Regions from separate parts of the Homo sapiens genome. Here all the other regions are linked to region 3. The links are contacts of gene promoters, found by promoter capture Hi-C in blood cells and fetal thymus (Javierre and others, 2016). All regions are on one chromosome and are shown on one strand. Each heading gives the region's core, a stretch centred on a gene start or on the middle of the fragment in contact. The rest is flanking DNA. Distances are from core to core; before and after follow the strand shown. Region 1 has its middle 4.6 kb from the start of DNAJC22. Region 2 overlaps TUBA1C (tubulin alpha 1c). Region 3 holds the start of FAM186B (family with sequence similarity 186 member B).

The links. Contacts are between HindIII fragments. The CHiCAGO score rates a contact against its expected background, and 5 or more counts as called.
Region 1: a contact is called between a fragment that was not itself captured here and the fragment with the promoter of FAM186B in region 3, in 1 of 17 cell types (endothelial precursors). The highest score is 6.1, in endothelial precursors.
Region 2: a fragment that was not itself captured here is called in contact with the fragment with the promoter of FAM186B in region 3 in 1 of 17 cell types (endothelial precursors); the score reaches 7.5 in endothelial precursors.

The regions. Positions count from the first base shown.
Region 1 is chr12:49,340,880-49,343,691 of GRCh38, reverse strand. No RefSeq gene overlaps it. Among named protein-coding and RNA genes, the nearest start is that of DNAJC22, 4.6 kb to the left of the region's middle. RefSeq lists an enhancer at 611-1,122 and a silencer at 1,324-1,463. The HindIII fragment of the contact is 8,852 bases long and covers 1-2,812 here.
Region 2 is chr12:49,274,062-49,276,761 of GRCh38, reverse strand. TUBA1C (tubulin alpha 1c) reads right to left here. Exons shown (of 4, transcript NM_032704.5): 4 at 2,162-2,700. Among named protein-coding and RNA genes, the nearest start is that of TUBA1C, 10 kb to the right of the region's middle. RefSeq lists a silencer at 2,482-2,700. The HindIII fragment of the contact is 1,071 bases long and covers 715-1,785 here.
Region 3 is chr12:49,604,263-49,607,080 of GRCh38, reverse strand. It overlaps FAM186B (family with sequence similarity 186 member B), which reads left to right and starts at 1,442. Exons shown (of 7, transcript NM_032130.3): 1 at 1,442-1,699; 2 at 2,543-2,768. The coding sequence starts at 1,604. The HindIII fragment of the contact is 1,733 bases long and covers 441-2,173 here.

The DNA of each region.
Region 1 (2,812 bases), core at 107-2,606, 260 kb after region 3:
TGCTGGAAGGGAGCAGCTGTCCTGACCAGCACTCTCACAGTTAACATCTAGCACCACCCCCACCCCCCACCCCAGCAGCACACCTCAGCTGTCACCGTGCGCACTGCCATTTCCTCCATAACTGGAGACAGAGCTGACAGCCAGCTGGGGGGTAGTGGGGAGACGGACACACAGGGAGGGGTGGTGGCTCATCCTCAGAGGGAATCTCACACCTCCACTGACAAAATCATACTGACACATACCTGGTACTGACACACACAGTCACTGACCTCCCACGTGCGATCCACATTCATCAATCCCTGTCATACACGCCATCTCTGAGTGCACAGTCACGCACAATCTCTCAGAGGTCAGGCCGAATCGCCTAGTCTTGAGACCTGCCTAATACCCTTCCTTGACATCTCAGACCTTAAATCACCTAACCCCAGAAGAGGGCTTAGGTCCCCGCCCTTGCTTCCCAGCCAGGGCCAGCTCCAACAACTGGGAGGCCGAGCTCAAGGAAGTCAAGTCCCAGGGTCAAGGCGAAGGACCGGGAGCAGATGGAGCAGTGGGACTGTTAAACGCTTGCCTTAGTCCCCTCCTGCTACTGGCCTCTTTCCCGGCACGTCCACTCGCAGCCCGCCCGGCCCGCCACCCGCCTGTCAGTCGAGTAATGAATGCGCGCTCGGGGCCACGGGCCCCCCTGGAGTCGTTCATCACTGCCAGCACCGCCCACCCCTCTGCCTCCCGCCGGGAGGGCTAAGCGGCCGGGGCTGTAAGAGCCCCTCACCCCGCATCTTGACCACTAATTGTCAGATTGAGATGTTGATTTGTCAGCTGGGAGCTAGCGCCAAAGAATCTGCAGTAAAACCTGGACTCCTTGAACTCCCTCTCGGCTCCCCTCGGGTTCGCCAGGACTTGGAGCCTTTTTTGAGCGGATGCGGATTGGTTGGATTTCACTGAACGGAGCGGGCATAGAAGCGCAGTGTCATTCAAAGCCGGCAGGAGGCGCGCCAGGCTAGAAACCCTTGGTTTCCCTAGGAGGGGTCGCCCTGGGCCTGGTTCCATCTGTACCTGCCGGACCTCTAAGGCTTGGTTCCCAGCTTCCCAGCAGGGGGCGCCCTGGACCCCGGGCCTCCGGTCTCCGCAGCTTTTGTTCCCTCTTCCCCACTGGGAGGCCCCAAGCCGCTAGCCCCAGTTTCCCTTCGGGGAGTGCCCGGGGCCATAATCCCCCACCCTTCGGCCAATGCCTCAGGCCACAGTCCTCCACTGCCCCGCAGGAGGCGCTCCTGCCGCAGGTCCGCCCTCGCCCTGTCCTGGGCGCCTAGGCTGCAGCCGCACCCCGCCCTCTCCCGGGCCGGGCCCAGGAGCTCCCTGGGCGGCCGGCTGAGTGACGGGCGGCCGGTGATTATGCGGAAGGGGGAGCGGGGTGCGCCGCGGGCGGCAGCGCTGACCCTTCACATTTCCGATCCGCTGGGACCCTCATCCATCCGAAGCTGCTCTTTGTCTGGCCGCCTAATTGCCGGCGGACAGGATGGATGGCGGGACCGACAGCCGCGGAATCCCTAATAAAGGCCGCGGCCGCCGGGGAGGGAGTGCAGGAGGGAGGGGGAGCAAGAGGGAAGGGATGGAAGAAGATGGGAGGAAGCACCGGGCAGCGGTCTCTGGCTCCGAGGCGCTGCGCGCGGCGCTCACTGAAGTCCAGCCCGCCTGGGGTGCTAGTTCGGGGTCCAGGTCCGGGTGCGGTGGGTTGGGGCTCGTTAAGTGTCCTGCTCGTCAGAGAAAAGCTGGGGACCCCAAGCAGAAAGAGCATCCTAGGGCCTTCCTCGCTTAGCCGAGCCCTCGAGACTTGGAGCTTAGCACTACCTCCTGGTCTCGGGGCTCTCATCAGTATGCGCCCCTACCTCAACTTCCCGCACCCCACCCGCCTCCTTTCACCTGTGGGTCTCCCAGACCCGGAGTCAATATCCCAGAGGAGAAATGAGGGGTCTGACAGCTCTCTGTGCAGCCGATCCCCACATTTCATTAACTGGAGGCTGGAGCTGGCAAGCGGTGGAGGCAGAGGGGGGCACAAAGGGAGGTGGAGGAGTCAAAGGCTAGGAGCAGCACCTGGCCAGGGGTGGAGGGCTGCCGAAGTAAGTCAGCAACAGCTCTGACCTGGCAGACACCTTGGAAGCAGTCTTTACCCACTCTCTGAGAAGCCAGGAGCTTGTCTTCAGCCCTGTGGACCCTGGTGCGATACTTTGAACTTAAGGTTGCACTGAGTTTTGGTGCCAGAGGCACTGGCTGATGAGTGGGAGCCCTGGGCCTGGCCGTGATGGCAGAGGCAGGAGGGTAGTCTCTGCAAGGAGGCAAACCATGAGCAGGTTCTTGGGCTGGGACGGTTTTCCCAGCTGCAGTCGGAGAACAGCCGGCTTCAGGCTTCCCTTTTGTCCCTTAAGCAAATTTTCCTTGACTCGCTTCGTTTTCCTTTGCCTTCCTTTTTCTCTGCCCTCTCTTCCTCCATCTGGACGGTTGTTCTCTGAAACTAACTTTGGCCATCCTTTAGCCAACAGTTGAGCACCTGTTGGGCATCATGCTTAACAGTGTCAGGGTGGGGGTTGGGGGATACACGGAGCCAAGACCCAACCCTTTTGGCCTCACATACAAAAGGCTCCCGGAAGCCATTCAAATCTCACTGCCCACTCCTGGCCTGCCTCTCTCACTCTTCCACTGCCTTGGGTGCCATTTGTCTCCTCTAGGGAACTGAGAAGGAAGCCAGGAGGTCATAACTCTAATTCCAGGACTATCCCTTACAGGGTGATAATGGACAAGCCATTTCCCCTTTCTGGGC
Region 2 (2,700 bases), core at 1-2,500, 330 kb after region 3:
GCCTCTGTGGGGGGAAGCAGGTTGCTCCTCTGGCCAGGTTAGGTGAGGGCAGACTAAGCCCTCTGTCCACACAGCCGGACCTGGGGCTGCCGCCAGCCTCAGGAGCCCGAATCCTCTTAGGCTGTGTGCATTTATTCCCATCAAGCTTCAGCGGCCTCAGCATCAGCATCAGTCGCAGCTCTGGGTCCAGACTTTCCATTCGTGCTCAAGGGCAGATCAGATGATTGTCAGCCACAAAGCAGTGACCTAGACCTTGGGGTATATTTGTTCTTGCTGCAGGCTAACTTCTATTCACTCTCCCTCCAACGCAGGAGGGGGAAATCATCTTTACAAGGACAAATGCCCCCCCAACCACTGGCACTTTGCTCTTCCAATTCCCCAGGCTTTATTCTACTGGAATATTTCTTCTCAGCTAAACTTTTCTCTCACCTTCTTTCACCCCAGACCTCTGTGGCTGCTTAAAGCTTTCCAACCTTTTTCACATCTTGGCACATGTAGAAAATAATTCATCTGTAAGGTGTACAGAGGTAAATGGAGGGGGCTACTCCTGGCCAGGGTGACTGGCCCCAGGGAGGATGGGTGAGTCAGGCTCTCCAGTTTCCACCATGTCATTCTAAAAGCCGAAGGGATCCTATATGGGCACCCTGAATCCTATTCTCAGGGCACCCTGCTTGGGAAATGCTGGTGTCATGGGGTGTCACACTCGCCTAAGCTTTGTGATTTATCTGCTCCTTTTCATACACGGGTGTCCCATTCCCATTTCCTCCAGTGCTTGCACTATGGCAATCAGCAGATCTCCTGGCCTGGGAAGGTCTCAAAATCCCCTCTGGCAGGCTAGCCAGCGTCTTCAAGGTTCACCTTCATTTCAGGCATCCCACCCCGCTCCCCTGCCCAGGCTGCAGGAAGAACCTGGCTCATCTGAGAAGTAGCAGTGGCTGAATTTGTGCTGGGGTCTTACCTTGCCCCGAAGGACATAAAACTATGGTTGCTCTCGACAAATGCTATATAAAACCATCCAGAGCACATAGTTGAGGCATCTCAGGCTGCAAAAGCATGCTGTGCTATGCACGCAGGTATAATATATACATTTAAAAAAATTTGAGACATAAAAAAAAATTTAAGGGAAAAAAATTTTTTGTCCCTTAGGCTGGAGGGCAGTGGCACGATCTCAGCTCACTGCTACCTCCACCTCCCAGGCTCAAGCAATCCTCCCACTTCAGCCTCTCAAGCAGCTGGGACCACAGACGTGCACCACCATGCCCAGCTAATTGTTTGTATTTTTAGTAGAGATGGGGTTTCACCATATTGCCCAGGCTGGTCTTGAACTCCTAAGCTCAAGTGATCCACCTGCTTCAGCCTCCCAAAGTGCCGGGATTACAGGCGTGAGCCATGGTACCCGGCCAAAAAAATGCTCAAAATAGACAGGGTCTCACCCTCTTGCCCAGGCACTGGTCTCAGACTCTTGGGTTTAAGCAATCCTCTCACCTTGGCCTCCCAGAGTGCTGGGACTGCAGCTGTGAACCCCAGCGCTGGCCTTAAACATGCACATCTTTCAGATGCAATTCTCAGAGCAAAGGGGCTAAAGTGAGCAATGGGTAAGGGATACAAAACACCTTTGGGAAAGAGATGGTAACTGGGTACACATCAGAATAAAGTAAGTCACGGAGGAGAGGTGAGTATGCCTGCAACTCTGCCCCCAGGGCCCATCTGCTACCACTCATTAGGCATTCCCACTCAGGCAAGCACCCAAGCACCAAAACTGATTCCTCCCTTCTGCATGAAGCTTCACCTTTTGGTCATTGTCCTTTCCCATTGCTTAGTTCAACTGAGTACCAGGCACCAAGCTCTCCAGCTACGTATAACACTCATGCCCCTTCACCCGTCTGCCCCCAAGAACCACGGTCCTCCAACAGGTGCTTGGAAAAAAGTCCAAATCAGAGAACTCACCCCTCTCCAATCTTTCCTACACATACATATTACTCCTACTTCAAATAATCTCCATGACATACAATTGGGTCAAATGCCAATACCAGAAAAACCGGTGACTGTTATTTTGTCTGACATTTCCACTTTCTCTAAACAATAACCCCTTTAGTACGAACCATCTTTGCCACTGTAGGTCTTAGCTAAGTATGGAATAAATCAGGATTCCAAGCCCTTCTCGTGTGACTAATACTTTATTAAAGACTGACAGCAATAGTTCTGGCAGTGTGGCTGGGCACTTGAATTTTGGCTCCAGCAGTTACTGTTATCTAACCCTTTGCTACTGTACATGTGGTCACATCAGACCAACAGCATCATTTGGGAGGTTATTAAAAAACGTATCTAGGGGCCAGGTGTAGTGGCTCACTCCTGTAATCCCAGCACTTTGGGAGGCTGAGGCAGGATTGCCTGAGCCCAGGAGTTCAAGGCCAGCCTAAGCAACATGGCAAAACCCCATCTCTACCAAAAAAAAAAAAAAAAAAAAAAAAAAAAATTACAAGAATCAGCCAGGCATGGTGGAACACACCTGTAGTCCTGGCTACTTGGGAGGCTGAGGTGGGAGGATGGCTTAGCCCAGGTCAAGGTGGGGGTGAGCTATGATGGTGCCATTGCACTGCAGCCTGGGAAAGAGACCATCTCAAAGAAAAAAAATTTAAGACGTGTCTGAAGCCTCACCTCAAGCCTATAGAATTAGAACCTGCATTTTGTTTTTAAATT
Region 3 (2,818 bases), core at 193-2,692:
TTTGCTCGGTTCAAAGTATTTCATAACTTTCCCTGTGATTTCTTTTTTGACTCAGGGTTATATGGAAGTATGTTGCTTAATTTGTAAAATATTTGGGAATTTTCCAAAGATCTCTCAATTATTGATTTATAGTTTAATACCATAGTGGTCAGAGAACATATTTTGTATTATTTTAGACTTCTTAGGGTAATTGATACTTGTTTTATGGCCCAAATTATGGTTTATATGATCATTGTTCCATATGCGTAGGGAATAATATGTGTCCTGTTGTTGGGTGAAGTGTTCTATGACTGTCAATGGAGTCAAGTTGGTTGATAGTATTTTTCAAAACCTCTATACTTTTTATTTTTTGCTACTTCTATCAACTCCTGCAAGAGAAGTGCTGGAATCTCCAACTATAATTTTGGATTTACCTATTCCTCCTTTCAGTTCTGGAAGCTTTTTACTTCATGTATTTTGAAGCAATGTTATTAGGTATATACACATTTAGAATTATGTTCTCCTTATTAATTGACATCTTTAGCATTATGGGATGTTCCTCCCTCTGTATGTTTGTGTGTGTGTGTGTGTGTGTGTGTGTGTGTGTGTGTGTGTCAGGGTATCTATCACCTAGGCTGGGGTGTAGTGGCGTGAACATGGCTCACTGCAGCCTTGACCTCCTGGGCTCAAGTGATCCTCCCATCTCAACCTCTCAAGTAGTTGGGATCCCAGGCATGCGCCACCATGCCTGGCTATTTTTTAAATTTTTTTGTAGAGCTAGGCTCTCACCATGTTGCCCAGGCTGGTCTCAAACTCCTGGGCTCAAGTGATCCTCCCACCTCAGCCTCCCAAATTGTTGGGATTACAGGCGTGAGCCACTGAGCCTGGCTTCCATTTGGTTATTGATTGGCTCTAATTTTTACAAATTTAAAATATTTTATTCAGGAAAATAACTTTTGCTAATTGCTTTTTCTTATTTGTAGACATTAATGTTTTGTTTGGGAGCATAACATTTAGTAATTTTTAAAAAGCAACAAGTAGGCCGGGCACGGTGGCTCACACCTGTAATCCCAGCACTTTGGGAGGCTAAGGTGGGTGGATCACGAGGTCAGGAGATCGAGACCATCCTCGCTAACACAGTGAAACCCCGTCTTTACTAAAAATACAAAAAATAAATTAGCCAGGCGTGGTGGCACGCACCTGTAATCCCAGCTACTCAGGAGGCTGAGCCAGGAGAATCACTTGAACCCAGGAAGTGGAGGTTGCAGTGACCGAGATCACACCACTGCACTCCAGCCTGGGCTACAGAGGGAGACTCCGTCTCAAAAAAAAAAAAAAAAAAAGAAAAGGCAACAAGTCAAGTAAATATATGTTAGGTAATGGACAAAAAGCTAGATAGTGGGGAGTCTCATCTCCTAATTCTTCTAATCAAACTGATGATGTCACTGGGGAAAAGAGGATCAGTTGGAACCTGGTGTTTGGCAGTTACCAGAGGAGCTGTGCCTGGGCAGAGGGTACCCAGGAGACACCCTGGTGCCCTTAACCTCCAAAGCAGGCAACATTGTGTGTCCAGGCCTGTGGACCAGAAACACAGGATGTTTTGTGACTGACAGAGTGATCCAAAATGGAGAAGGATGACCCCCCACAGTTGGTGACTCCCACATCAGTGAAAGCCATCATCCTGAGGATTGAGGCTGCCCAGCTAACTCGGGCTCAAGAGGTAGCCCCTGAGATGAAGGAATCACTCTTACATTGGGATCTGATGCGGAGACTGGGGGCTGATCCCAGGTTTGAGTGAGATTCCAGCTCTGGGTCCTCAGAGGCCCTGGGATATTCAGCAACCTGGGTCTGCAGACAGATTAGTATAAATTATCTCTCTCCTAAACTTGGCATATACAGGGTGAGCTGAAAGCAACCACCCGCCTGAGGCAGGGCTGGGGCCCGGGAAGGGGGCAGGAAGCTCGAGGATAGCCCTGAGGCACATCGTGGTGGTGTGGTGGGTTTTAGAGGGCAGGAGAAAGGACCCAGAATCTGTTCTTGGCAACCCTCCAGAATCCCCCAAGCTGAGCCCAGGAAGTTCATAGGGGTTGGGGAAATGTCCAAAGGCTCAAATCACCCTGTACACGAGGCTCTAGTACATTTTTTACTTGAGCCTCTGATCCTAGAGTTTCTTGGGGCCTCACTTTTCCAAGCTTCTGTTGCCTGTGGATCCTTGTGAGGAAAGACATCCAGAAACCCCCAGCAACCTCTGAAATTCTAAAGAAATGTTTGCTGTGGGGTTTTGGTGTTCTATACTTTCTTGACCTTCTTAATAATCACAATGATAATAAAAGCTACCACTTTTGTGTAATGTGCCAGGTACTATTAAAAGCACTTTAAAATATTTAATTCATTTAATCCTTACAGAAACCCTGTGACATAGGTACTATAATGATTCCCACTTTAAATATAAGAAAACTGAGACCCAAAGAGGCTAAGCGACTTGTCCAAGGTCACGCTGCTAGCATGTGGCTTCTGGCTCAAGTCCACAGCCCTAACACTACAATCTGCTGCTTCTCTATAGGATATTTCTACCCAGCTCTCAGACATTTTGGACAATGTCAATTGTGTCATCAACCGCTTCCAGGAAGAATTAGGATATGATTTAAAAGAAAATGCCAAATCTCAGCAGAGAGATCCAAAGGGCAAGAAGAGATTCATCTTGCTGGAAAAAATTGCCTCCTTCTCCAAAGATGCTATGATGAAGGAGAAGCACCTGTATGACATTCTCCGCTGGCTGGGTGACTGGGGTGAGTTTGCAGGCTGGGCACCGTGCCTCCTCTGGGAGGGGAGTGTGGGT